2 separate regions of the Homo sapiens genome follow, and region 1 is linked to region 2. The links are contacts of gene promoters, found by promoter capture Hi-C in blood cells and fetal thymus (Javierre and others, 2016). All regions are on one chromosome and are shown on one strand. The core of a region is centred on a gene start or on the middle of the fragment in contact, and the rest is flanking DNA. Distances in the headings are between cores, read along the strand shown.

Region 1 (7,162 bases), core at 1,123-3,622, about 21 Mb before region 2:
CAGTACATGTGATAATATAATCTGCCCAACTGGCTTTACTGATTTGGAAGCTGAAACTCAAAAGGTTAAAGGACTTGTCCATGGACACAGATATTTTGGAGCACAGCCATGACTAAACAATCCTTGTCTCCTACTGCACTGTTCCCTTCAACAGGTCATATACCTCAGCCCCTCATGTAAAAAGATACAATATGTACACAAAATACATAAAAAGATACAAGCCAAATAAAAAGCAATTTGATGACTATTATTTCTCAAATATAATTGAGGTAGTTAACTTCAAACATTATCAGTCTTAATACACCTTTCCCATAATATAATTACTTCACCGATCTAAAAATGTTTTATGATATCAAATTAAAATGTCTTAGGCAACTGCCATGTGCAGGAAGTTCATTATAGTTTCAATAATGTGGTACTGCTGTAAACTTCCAGGTTAAAAGTAATCATCCTTACATGACTGAAAGTTTAATCAGATACATATAAGTTACACATAACAAGAACAAAACTATAACACTAGGAAATGTTACTTTGTGCTTCAAATTATTTATTGGTAAAGAAAGCATTAAGTCAGTAAAAGCAGCATCTAAGAATAGAGAATCTCCTTATTTTCAATTTTCTCATTTGTAAAATAAGGAGTTACAGAAATACAATCTTTGGAAAAGGCCCAATATGTAGCAAGATAAAAGTATAAAAGTAAAGTGTTTCAAAGAGAGTTGGGGACCAAGCTATGCTAAATTCCCAAGTGCTCTGGAACCCTAAGTCTCAGCAGAGTAGTGTTTCAACAAATCCCTCCACTTTTCGGAGCGCAACACATGTAAAGTGGTTGTGTTTAAAACCCCAACGTGCAAGTTTGAAAAGACTGTTTTACAAAACAATTGTTAAAATGTCTAATTTCTCTCAATAATGTCAAAATCATTTCCTTTGAGAAAATGATACCTATCTCTCATACTCTTCCAACCACTTCTTAAAACACATTCAGCTCATTATTCCAATGAGCAGGAAACTTGCGGGGAGGTGGGGCTAGCACACAGATCCCATGGCTTGGACAACTGAAGCATGACTTTTGTGGATTTGTACCATGTGGTGTTTCAGGAGAGAAGAAAAATACCTCAGGTGATGAAATTTTCAAAACGTATCTAAAACTGCAGTTGGTAGAAGGCTCTCCACAGCCAGCTGTCTTTCAAGAAAAGGCTCCAAGTTTATTTAAAATCTACAAGCAGAACAGAACCATACCTCAACCAAGCTCTAACATCAAGAAGTTTTACCCGATTTACGTAGTTAAAAGGATAAGAAATCGGAATTTACTTCAATGGATTTGTTCGATGCCTTAATAATGAATGAACTAGAGGCATCACTCACTGACTTGAGTTCTGAAGGAGTCTCTCAGCCCTGCCCCCTGTAAAACCTTAAGCAATTTCTACAGAATTAGGTTTTTCGAGGCTAAGCCCGGTTCAAAGGAAGTCTCCCCGCCTCCCTCCCAGGGGCTGAAGCCCAGGACAGCCGGGGCGGCGCGCCCGAGCGGGTGGGGGCGCGGGGACGCCCCCTCCCCGCTCGGGAAAAGTTCTGCAGGCCGCTCTCCGGCCAGGCCGGCCTGCGGCCGTCGCCTGCTTCGCCGCCACAAACACCCATCTCGGCCGCGGACGGCCAGAGGGTCGCGCCCCCTCCCCGCGCCACCGCAACTAACACCCCGCCCCCGCCTCCCCGCCACCGCCCTCGCCGAGCGTTAACCCCTCGCCGTCCGCCGCCCGGCTCGGGGGAGGAGGCCGGCCAGGGGGTGGAGTTGTCGCGTCTCCTCCCGGGAGCGCCCGGGCAGACGCCCGGCTTGTTTACAGGCCCCAGGCCTGCCCGCCGCCGCCGCCGCGCAGGCCCGCACCGCCCGCCAGCCCGCCGTCGGCCCGAGCGCCGCACTTACCCGGAGCAGCCGCAGGCGGGCAGGTCCCTGGTCGGCCGAGGCGGCGGCGGCGGCAGCCGGGGAGGGGGTCACCGCGGCGGCGACGGCGGCAGCCGGGGGAGGGGTCACCGCTGCAGCGGCGGGCCAGGTCAGGCTGGGGAAGGGGCGGAGGAGGGGAGGAGCCGGGCTGCGTCCGGGCCCCCGGCTGTCGGCGCCCTCGCGGCTCAGATCATCCGGGCGTTGGAGAGGGAGGCAGAGAGCGGGTCCCGGAGAAGGAGGAGGAAGAGCCGAGGACTCATCGCTTTCGCGCCTCAGCTGTCTAGAGTCCCCCCACCCCCCCCTCCCCAACCACCCGTTCCGGAGCAACAGCCGCCTGAGGACCCGAAGCTGCGGGCCGGACGAGCGCCGAGACCACTGCTCTCTAGCTCCCGCGCGCGCTCCCGTCCCTAGCGCCGCCACCGCCGCCGCCGCCGCCTCTAGCGCGGCCCCGCGCAGGCGCGCTCACGACCGCGTCGCCCCTCCCCCACCCCTCCGCTCGCCCCGCCCCGCTGGCTCCGCCGCCGCTACAGCTGCGGCGCGGCGCGCAGCTACAGAGACCCGGATGTCGTTGGGCAGGAACTGCGGTGAGGGCTGGCGGGCGGGGGAGGGGCCGCCACAGATGACGTCACTGCCTTACCCAGCTTCTTTCTCTGCCGCTGCTGCTGCCGCCGCCTTTGCCTTACGGCCTGGAGCACCAGGCCGAAGCCGAAGGGAGCGTCCGGATCCCGGATAGCAGCCAGGACCCGGGCCTTCACGTTCCGGCGCCAGGGACTGGACAGAATGTGCGGCTATTAGGTGCCCAGTAGATCGACAGCCCCTCCGTGCCGGCCCTTGGCCAAGTAGGGACTCGGAAGCTACCCCTACGGCGTCCGCGCCCGGAGCCCTGGCTCTTCTACCTGCCTGCAGATACAAACCCCACTCCCTGCGAAGATGGTGTACACGCAGCCCCGAGCACAGACCCGAAGCTGTCCACCCTTCTTGGGCGCCGTCGCGGTCTGGCCGCTGCCCTTCGAACCCATGGTGGGTCCCAGGCAGCTGCCAGACCCCCCTACCCCAGAGTCCCACTCCTCCAGAGCCTTCCTCTCCCAGTGACCCCAGGAAGCCCAAGCAGGTGCCACGGCCACACACCTCGCGACCCAAAGGGCAGAGACACAAGCACGCTACCACCGCCCACCAATGTGCGAGTGCAACTGATTCACGCACGGGGCACATGCTCTGAGTTTCTGGCAGGTTTTCCCTCTATAGTTCAGGGGATTCCACATTGTATTTATTTGCACATGTTAGATAATCACGTGGTTCTGTCCCAGGGGACCTCCAACGACCTCCAATGAGGTAGGTTAAGGGAACAGGATTTTTCAAAATCAGGAGAATAATCAGAAACATAACAGCTGCTTCTATTAAGAGGTAGAGATGAGCTAAAGTTAATAGAAACTGCACGTGCCAGCGGCCAAAATCCAGTTTAGCTAGCTGGAAAACCCGACCCACGCTGCTTGCAGACGCCGGGGATAGAATGACAAACCCTAGGCAGCCAATGAATCGCAGCCTAGGAGCAGTACATCACCAGCACGGGTTCCCATTGGCTGGGGTGCCCTTCCCTCTCTTGTCAGCGGCTTAACCAGTTCACGAATTTGACCTACACCACATTCGCAGGAAAAGAAGTTAGAAGAAAAGTCCGTATTTTTAAAAGATGTTCTGATGCACACACAAACCAAAGACTTCATTGTAGAAGGCAGGTTCTTTTACTGGCCAAATTGAGTTCTGGCCAGTAAAAAAGGTAAATTTATGTTGAAGGCCTCTCTATTTTACTTGAGGAGCTCACTATAGCAATTTGCACCCTACTACTTTCTATCTCCTAAACCATTTTGTTGCCCCAACTCTTAGATCAAAAGCAACCTATTTATTCTTTCTGGCATTCAGCAAATATTTAGCTGCTGCTTTTAAAGTTGTAAAAAGCCATCTCTAATTTTCTCAACATGACTTTGGGGAAGGTTCTGTTTCCTTCACTTTTTTTTTTTTTTTTTTTTTTTTTTTTGAGACAGAGTCTCGCTCTTTCATCCAGGCTAGTACAGTGGCACAATCTCGGCTCACTGCAAGCTCCGCCTCCCGGGTTCATGCCATTCTCCTGCCTCAGCCTCCCGAGTAGCTGGGACTACAGGCGCCTGCCACCACGCCTGGCTAATTTTTTTGTATTTTTAGTTCAGACAGGGTTTCACCGTGTTGGCCAGGATGGTCTCGGTTTCCTGACCTCGTGATCCACCCTCCTCGGCCTCCCAAAGTGCTGGGATTACAGTCGTGAGCCACTGTTCCCGGCCAGAATTCCTTAGAAGATGATCGTGGATCATTTCCACATATACAAAATAAAAATAAAATTCACTATGCATTTGGTCTCAGTATCATCTGAGGATACATTTCCTAATTCTCCACATATCTCCCCGACCCCCCAAAAAAAGAAATTAGATCAGAGATCTTTGAAACGCTACCTTCTTGGAATCCTTAATACTCCAGGCAAGTAACAGCATGAGTAGCATGCTGGTGGACTCATTAACATTCTGAACTACAAAAGCTCATATGGCAACCATTTAGAGTGCTCTTAAAAGACAAATTTTCTTATTTATAAGCAGAAGCTGGGTCACTAGTGACGGTAGTGGACCATAGAAAACTTGAAATGCCTGCCTATCTTTCTGCTTCCTTCCTTTAGGCTTCCACACCTTTCTTCTCTCTGTTCTGCACTTGGAGAATCTGGGTCAATTGTAGAAGAAGAGGGAGAGAAATAGAAAATATGAACAGAAAGAAATTTTTAAGGAGTCTACGCATTGTACAGACTGCCGATAAAGCAGCACCTTCCTACTATTTATTTCTGAATACAGCTTGCAGGGACATTTTGGTATGAACTAGGAAACTCATGGGTTATAAGATTAATATTTTAAAAAGATATCAATATTGTCTGATTAAATATGTTTAATATCATCATATCCCCTTTTATTAAACCTTATGCTAAGAAGGGGGGACAGATAGAAGGGGAAAATAACATTGAAAAAAGAGGATTGAAAGTTCTCTTCTGAACTGTAAGACTTTGCCGGGCCTCTACACATATTTGGGATGTTCACAGTAAGATTTTAGTGGGAATATATTGCCATGATGATGACATTTTAGTAATTTTTATAGGTATATTATAAAACTATCCTGCTCTGCTTTGGAAATCTGTTTATATTTCAATTAACAAAGAAAAAGATTATCTACAAGATTGGCTTTAAAGTCCTGAATTTAGTGTGTGTTGATAGCCTAGTAATTGGGAGGCTTGGGGTGAGGACAGGGGCTGTAGTGTGGAGTCTAAAGCTTAATCTGATCAGCAATACTCTCTTTCCCTTTCCACCACAATTGTGACTTAAAAAAAGGTTTACATTCCTGCTCCCAAATTACTCTCCAGGAGAGTCACCCTTGAGGCAGACTTGCCTGGGCCTCTCAAAATATATGCAGTAATGTAAATGACCCCCTCAGGAGGCTAGTATTTGAGAATACCCCTCACCATCCTTTTCCACTGAAGCCAGTCACTACTCAAGAGTTAGAAAGCCAACCAGAACATAGGTTCAACAATTCCTTCCTCCCTCACTACCTGTTTCATATTTTTTTCTCTCACACATCCTCTTCATTTGGTTTCCTCTTTTCTCATTTCTCCTTCTCTCTCCTCCCTTTTTCTTCTCTTCTCTTTTTGCCTTCTTTGCCCTTCTCTTCCCCATTCTTCTTTTCTCTCTTTTCATTAGCTTAGTACAAATTGTAGCTTCTGCTACCCATTTTCTCCCAGAACAGAACATGCGAGCAGACAGTGCCCCTAAATGAATTTCATTCAGGGAGAGGGTGTGCCCCCTACCCTGGCCCTCCTTCCTCCCTCCCCTACATCATAATACATTATGAGAAACTTAGCTGCTTAGAGGACTGTTACAGAATCAAAAGGATTAGAGAATCCTGTCCTGTGTGACATCACTGGGCAGCCCCATTAGGGAGGGGCAGAGGGGAGCAGCCAGCAGTCTTATGCTACCACTGTGGCTCATCCTGCGACCTGAGAGAAACCTGGGCAACTGTGAGCACCAGAGGCCAAGTCCTGGACAGTCTTTAGGGTAGGCTTTCACCTCAAGATAGCCATATATGGCCACAGCCTTACAATACTAGAGTGGATCTTGTCAGATAAGTTCATCTGTTCATGAGATAGCTATTGTGCACCAAGCACTGTGTGGGACACTGGAGGTAGATAATGACATCAATGGGCAAGCCCTGCCCACAAAGAGCCAACATAATAATAAGAGGCATAGACAAATAAGTCAGCAGATAGAAAGGAAATTGCATACTGTTATCCATGCTGTGAAGAAAATAAATAAGGAAACAGATCCGGGAGACGACTTGAAACAGGTGTTCAGTGCAGACCTCTCTAAGAAGGCAGCATTTGATCTAAAGGATGAGAAGGAGTCAGCTTCATAATCAGGGGAGAACTTTCCAGGTAGAGGGGTCAGCATGGGCAAAGGGCCTGATGTGGAAAAGAGCTTGGCAGAAAAGAGTTTCTTACAGCCCAAAGACAAGTTCAGCAAACTCAAGGCAAATAGTTTATGGTCATTTAAGTTTCGAGAGTGTTTCAACGTGGACATTAGGGATATTTAATTTATAATCAGGAAACTACATTATGTGCACGGGTATAATCCATAGAAAATAACTTGGTGAGTTGGTCTGGTGCAAAAAGCAAAGCAACTTTTTTAAAAATTGAAATTAAAAATAGTCTGGGTGCAGTGGCTCACACCTGTAATCCCAGCACTTTGGAAGGCCAAAGCGAGTGGATCACTTGAGGCCAGGAGTTCAAGACCAGCCTGGCCAACATGGGGAAACCCCGTCTCTACTGAAAATACAAAATTAGCCACACCTGGTGGCACACGCCTGTAATCCCAGCTACTTGGGAAGCTGAGGCAGGAGAATCGCAGGCAGGAGAATCACTGGAACTCAGGAGGTGGAGGTTGCAGTGGGCCGAGATCATGCCCCTGCACCCTAGCCTGCATGACAGAAAAAAAAACACCTTTATTCAACTATTGAAATTGAGAAGTATTCCATAACTCCAGGAAAGACCCGTCAGACAATCCAGCAGCAGCTAGAAAAGAGTGAATTATAAGCTTCAAATAAATAGTTTTCATCCCAATATAGGTACCTATTTGTGCTAAGTAAAGACTAGCACAGATTTGAGTGGGCTTC
Region 2 (6,896 bases), core at 2,670-5,169:
CTTTGGTCACGCCAGTTGAGAATCAGTCTCTGATTAGACGCTGAGCATCTATACTAGAGAAAAGAAAGCAATGGCGAGACAGACACGCAGTCATGGTTGAGTTAGCCTCTTCACCTGGCCTAGAGCTGGTTAAGACCAGACCTAAGGGAGCGGCCCTGTTGTTAGTGGTGTCTGTGTGTGTTGTCCCGCTTCTGGTTCTGCCCTACCTGCACTGCCAATGTAGGAACTAGTTTTGTTCTATAAATATATATACAAATTGAAGCTCAGAAAACATTTTTTCACAGGCCAGGCACAGTGGCTCACGCCCGTAATCCCAGCACTTAGGGAGGCTGAGGCAGGTGGATCACTTGAGGCCAGGAGTTGGAGACCAGCCTGGCCAACATGGGGAAACCCCGCCTTTACTAAAAATACAAAAATTAGCTGGGAGTGGTGGTGTACGCCTGTAATCCCAGCTACTCGGGAGCCCGGGATGCGGAGGTTGCAGTGAGCCGAGATTGCACCACTGCACTCTAGCCTGTGCGACAGAGTGAGACTCCGTCCCAAACAAACAAAAAAACAAAACACTTTCCCACAGAAACAATGCTTTAAATAATCTCAGCCAGGCATCTATCTTCCTTGTACAAAGAATTAGTGGGCCCAGTGTATTAATTAACTCAAGCTACCACTTTAATCCAGCAATCTTTTAGAGCTTCCATTGTGTATCAGCAGTAAGCTAGGGTTTGAAAATAAAGCCTAGAACAAGATAGTTGTGATTCCTGCTTCTGTGGGGTTTGTAGGCTTCCAAAGGAGCAATGATCATTCATTAGTTCAACAAATACTGAGGGCCCACTATGTGCCAGGTGCTATTCTAGGCACTTGGGTATATCAGTGTACAATAAAGATCTCTGAGCAAGTCCAGTGGATTGTGCCTGTAATCCCAGATACTTGGGAGACTGAGGTGGGAGAATCGCTACAGCCCAGGAGTTAAGACCAGCCTGGGCAACATAGCAACGATCCTGTCTCTAAAAATAAAAATTTTAAAAATTGTACTGGAGAGGCTGAGGCGGGATGATTGTTTGAGTCCAGGAGTTTGAGACTGCAGTGAGCTGTCATCACACCACTGCACTCTAGCCTGGGCAGCAGTGAGACTCTGTCTCAAAAATAAATAAATAAATAAATAAATAGTATAGCATGTTAGAAAGCGGGAAGTACTATAGGAGAAAAAAATGTAGAGATGAATAATGGGGATGAAGATTGACAATTATCTAATTCTGATTGTGAGCATACTTAGCCTCATTGATCTTATTACAGGTCTGTGTACAACCTTAGGCAGTACCTGAGGCATGAGAGTGTGATAATAGTAGAGCGTATTCAGCAAGTGTAAGAATGTTTGCATGTATGGTCGGCCCGGTAATCCCAGGATTTTGGGAGGCCTTGGTGGGCGGATCACTTGAGATTGGGAGTTCAAGACCAGCCTGGCCAACATGATGAAACCCTGTCTCTACTAAAAATACAAAATTAGTCCTGCATGGTGGCAAGTGCCTGTAGTGTCAGCTGCTTGGAAGGCTGAGGCAGAATTGCTTGAGCCCGGGAGGTGGAGGTTGCATGCAGTGAGCCAAGATCATGCCACTGCACTCTGGCCTGGGCAACAGTGAGACTCTGTCTCAAACAAAACAAAACACACACAGCTGGGCACAGTGGCTCAAGTCTGTAATCCCAGCACTTTGGGAGGCCGAGGCAGGCGGATCACCTGAGGTCACGAGTTCGAGATCAGCCTGACCAACATGGAGAAACCCCGTCTCTACTAAAAATACAAAATGAGCTGGGCTTGGTGGTGCATGCCTGTAATCCCACCTACTCGGGAAGCTGAGGCAGGAGAATCACTTGAACCCGGGAGGCGGGGTTGCAGTGAGCTGAGATAGTGCCATTGCACTCCAGCCTGGGCAACAAGAGCAAAACTCTGTCTCAAAACACACACACACACACACCACACTCACTGTCCTTGCTTCCATAGGATCTATTCCTAGGAGCCTTGGCAATTTAACTTTATGGAGAAGGATAAGTAGGATGCTGTGTTCAATAGTTAGTAGGTCCTCATTAAATAAGTTTCCTTTCTATCCAGAAACGTACTTTAAAAGCCTCATGTTATTGTGGTTGGAGAAGTCAACTTTGATAAATTGGCCATTTACTTACTTTTTGACTTGTGTGGTGGACTTGGACTCCTTTTTCTTGATGGTAGTGATGAGGGCAAGAATGTCATCTAGACATAAAGGACCTGATTTCGCATAACTGAAAATTTAGTGCTGGAAAAATTAAGATTACCATGGCAAAATACTCTTCAAAATTACACAATTTAGTGTTTTCAAAGGCTTAAGTGGAGCTTTTATGCTGGATTTACGTGATGAATGGAATAAACTGATTCAAACATTAGAAGGGACATGCTTAAAAAAAAAACCTACCACAATTAAAATTTTGGAACATGATCTTAAATTCCTGTGAAAGGGCATGAAGAGTTTGTGTGTGTGTTTCGTTTTTTGAGACGAAGTCTTGCTCTGTCGCCCAGGCTGGAGTGCAGTGGCACAATTTCTGCTCGCTGCAACCTCTGCCTCCCAGGTTCAAGTGATTCTCCTGCCTCAGCCCCCCGAGTAGCTGGGATTACAGGCACCTGTCACCACGCCCGGCTAATTTTTGTATTTTTAGTGGAGACGGGTTTTCACCATGTTGGCCAGGCTGCTCTCAAAACTCATGACCTCGTGATCCCCCCCACCCCCCGTGCCTCGGCCTCCCAAAGTGCTGGATTTTACAGGCATGAGCCACCTTGCGGTATGTTAATTTGGGGGAAAACAACAGGGACAATTGGGGAAAAATTTTGTTTTGTGAATTACCAATGGAAGAACTAATCACAGGCTAAGCAACATGCTTACGGTTGAATTTGCCAAATTTAAGATGTACATACTATGATGTAGCATGTGTATTTATTTGCACATGCAGTGGGACAATTCCTACAGTTGTCTCACACTGCTGTAGATTATTAGCAACTCCATCCTGCAGTGACATCGCTTTTCTGAATTCTATAGCACTTTTCACCTAATCCTCTGATTAGTCTGTATTTTCCGGTTCAAGTGTATCTTGTTTTTCGTTTGCTCCACTTCCCTTGTCCCTTGCACCCCACTAACAGGAAAATTCCTGGTGGTCAAAATGGCTCTAATTCTTTTTGTATACCCGGGCTTAATTCAATAGGAATTGGGATAACTTTTCAATATTTAAAAAATTTGCACTGTGAAAACGTATATTTTAAACTCTTTCTACAACTTTTCATATTTGAAGAACATATGGCAGGAAGTGGATGCTTTTGATGAAGCCAAAAGAATTTTTTTAACTTCTATTGCTAATTAACAAGGAGGTGGCCGCGGGAGCTCTTTTTTTTTTTTTTTTTTTGAGACGGAGTTTCACTCTTGTTGCCCAGGCTGGAGTGCAGTGGCGCGATCTCAGCTCACCGCAACCTCCGCCTCCCGAGTTCAAGCGATTCTCCTGCCTCAGACTCCCGAGTAGCTGGGATTACAGGCATGCACCACCAGGCCCCGCTAATTTTGTACTTATAGTAGAGACGGGGTTTCTCAGGCTGGTTCGAACTTCCGACCTCATGTGATCCACCCGCCTCCGCCACCCAAAGTGCTGGGATTACAGGCGTGAGCCACCGCGCCCGGGCCAGGCGGGAGCTTTAGGTCTTATTTTATCTTGCTCTGCCCCCGACATCGTGGTGAGAGGGGAACCTTCCTCATATCTGGGCGCTGGCCTCTCCGGGCTTGGGAGAGAGGAACTCAGTGATCATAGAGCTGGCCGAATGCCGGGGTAGAGGGGACCGGAAGTTGTTTTTTTCGCCCCCGCCCAGCGGCCGGATCGCATCTCAGCTGGTTGGCTTTGGTTAGAGCTCCCGTCAGACTTTAGTTCGGCCCTAGGATTTGGTAGCCCCGAAGTGTGGGCTCTCTCCAGTACCAGACTCATTTCAGTACCAGCCTTTGGGAAGTCGTGTGAATACCTCGGTCTCTTAGCCACAGGGATAGAATGGCGGCCTGACGGAGCCGCGGCGCCGGCGAAGTCGCTGAGGCGCGAGCTGGAACCCCCAGACCAGCTCAAACGGGAGCCAAAACTCGAAGCTTGGAAGAATTAGCAGGAAATGGCGGATGAGGCGTTGTTTTTGCTTCTCCATAACGAGATGGTGTCTGGAGTGTACAAGTCCGCGGAGCAGGGGGAGGTGGTGAGTGCTGCCACACAACCTTGAGGTCCTTTTGCGGTGACACACCTTGTTTCCCCTCAGTGCTTTCCTTCAACCCCTGTCCCATCGCCACCCGACGCCTCCCGAGGTGTACACAAAATGGTCCACCTCCAGGTGTCCTAAACCCTAGAACCTGTCAGTTGTCTCCTTTGAACCGTCATCTTTCATCGTTTTCTCTTTCGTATCTTCTTCTATTTGATTCTCTTTTGTCTATTCCCGTACGTTTGTCTTGCACGCCACAGATTTTGGTACTTTTAGTGTTGTCCCTGCCATTATTTACGAGAGGGTTAACTGCAGAGCCTACTTAGTTTTGCTGGCACTTCCAGCACTTGAGCCATGCACTGGACAGACCTGTGCCAACCTGAGAAGCCTGTCCCTCCTTCCTCATTCCTAATGCTCAGTACAACTCCACACAACTTGAGACCTGAAGCCTAATGAAGGTTGAGTTTGCAAAGGAAAGTTTGCAGGCGTTAGGATAATTAGGGAACATAATTTAAATTAATTATTTCAGAAAGTATTTATTTAGTGCCCTTATGTCAGAGCGATTTCTAGGTGCCAGGGATATAGTAGTGAATGAAACAATGGCCCCATCCTTGTAGAGATTTTTTTTTAATCTAATTTAATCCGAAATGTGATAGTATGTAGCGGTTACTTCTAATATGTGGGAGTCCTTATTCAATCATTGTGGGCCTGTCACTGCTGACACTGCTAGATAAATTAAATAAAATAATACTCCTGCCTCACAGTATTTAGGGAATAGTGATTTAATGAATAGTTAACACTGAGTATTGGCTGGTAGAATCATGGAGTTGTAACGGATTTTAGAAATACTCCAAAGTCATGCTCAAGTCAGGAGCCCTTTCTTTAATGCTATTGATAAAAAATGAGTGGAGAGTGGGGATAGGAAATGTATCCTAGGCAAAGATAAAGTGGTAGAGGTATGAAAGAGTGGTGGATTTAAATACACTTAAGCATTTCTTTGGACTAGACTGAATAGAGAGTGAGAAGAATTGAGAGGTGAAGTTAGAAAGCTTTGTGTAATTAAAGAATTCGGATCTTTTCGAGGGAATATTTTTAAGGAAGGGAATGATGTGGACCATTTGCATTTTAGAAAAGTAATCCAGTGTTTGGGCTAGAGAGGGAAGATCCTTGTAGGGGGAAAATCCTTTATTACGGGAGTCACTGCAGGAGGAGATGAAGATCTGGATTAAGACAGGGATAGTGAGAAAAGGAGATAACAGATTTGAAAGTTAGAAAGTGGAATTCTGTAGGCCTTGTTTAAGGATGGGAGTGGGAGTTGAAAATTATCGTCAGGTTTTCAGCTTGAGCAGCTGGGTTGGATGGTGGTACTATTAATCAGAAAAGGAAATAAAGGAGAAGAAAAAAATAAGGAGGTAAGATAATGAGTTATTTCGGGGCAGGTTGAACTTTTGAGGTGCCTGTATGACATCCAAAAAAAGGTACTGCCAGTTTGCACAAGAAGGATAGGCAGGATACATTTGGAAGGTTATTGGAAATGAAGCGAATTCTATTCTTATTCAAATGACCCATCTATAATAGAGATTTTTTTCAAGTCACAAACTTCTGACTTTATTATTGACCTCAAGGTTTACTGTTTGTGCAAAGCTAGCCTTCCTTTTCCCTCTAGAACAGTTAACACACCCCTTTTACTTTTTTGTCATAACCCCCGATCCCCCCAAACCACTTGCGTATTCAGTTCTCTTCATTCTCCCCTCCCTTCTTACCTTTCCTCTTCTCTCTCTCTCTTTTTTTTTTTTTTTAGATGGAGTTTTGTTCTTGTCTCCCAGGCTGGAGTGCAGTGGTGTGATCTCAGCTCACTGCAGCCTCCGCCTCTTGGGTTCAAGCGATTCTCCTGCTTCAGCCTCCTGAGTATCTGGAATTACAGGTGCCGGCCACCATGCCTGACTAATTTTTTTGTATTTTTAGTAGAGACGGAGTTTCACCCTGTTGACCAGGCTGTTCTTGAACTTCTGACCTCAGGTGATCTGCCCGCCTTGGCCTCCCAAAGTGCTGGGATTACAAGCGTAAGCCACTGCGCCTGGCCCTTTTCTGACTCTTGTCTAGAATAATATTTTTTCTTCTTTTTAAAATATCTTTTTTTTTTCCCGTGGGTTAATCCTAAATAAAATGAACAGAGCTGTTCTACTCAGGCCTGATAATTTTAAGAGATGGACTAACATACAAGAGAAAGGAAGTTCATAGTTTTGAATCATTTAAGCTAAAAATAACTTTCTTTTTCTACTGCAGTGTATTTATGATGGGGGGGAAAATTGAAAGTACATAATAAGCAAAAATTATATAAATAACAGTTATGTGGTAGTCTTCATAATCAGAACCCATACTGAAATACGGGTATATAAGGGTTCACATTAGTGTCCATACTTTGAGTGTGCTTGAAATTTTTCATCATGAAAAATGTAAAAGATACATAATCCTGTCATCCAGAGGTGATTTTTAGAGATTTTTTTCAGACATAAAAAGATCTGTAAAAACTATGTTGTTTATGTCTGAAAAGACCTATAAAATCCATTTCTCGCTGACAGGATTATGTGTCTTTTTTTTTGTTTTTGTTATGGAAAGTTTTTTTAAATGAAATAAAGTTTTATAAATTTTCAGTATA

What was found. Contacts are between HindIII fragments. The CHiCAGO score rates a contact against its expected background, and 5 or more counts as called.
Region 1: the fragment with the promoter of PPM1A here is called in contact with the fragment with the promoter of TRAPPC6B in region 2 in 1 of 17 cell types (non-activated CD4 T cells); the score reaches 5.2 in non-activated CD4 T cells.

The regions. Positions count from the first base shown.
Region 1 is chr14:60,244,431-60,251,592 of GRCh38, reverse strand. It overlaps PPM1A (protein phosphatase, Mg2+/Mn2+ dependent 1A), which reads right to left and starts at 2,372. Exons shown (of 6, transcript NM_021003.5): 1 at 1,916-2,372. LOC101927702 (a long non-coding RNA gene) reads left to right here and starts at 5,957. Exons shown (of 3, transcript NR_188027.1): 1 at 5,957-6,048. RefSeq lists silencers at 1,389-2,128, 2,329-2,428 and enhancers at 2,529-2,878, 2,939-2,988, 2,298-3,026, 3,569-3,818. The HindIII fragment of the contact is 6,782 bases long and covers 1-5,271 here.
Region 2 is chr14:39,167,356-39,174,251 of GRCh38, reverse strand. TRAPPC6B (trafficking protein particle complex subunit 6B) reads left to right here and starts at 3,919. Exons shown (of 6, transcript NM_001079537.2): 1 at 3,919-4,237. The coding sequence starts at 4,157. RefSeq lists enhancers at 2,692-3,281, 4,063-4,112, 3,872-4,461. The HindIII fragment of the contact is 6,900 bases long and covers 1-4,138 here.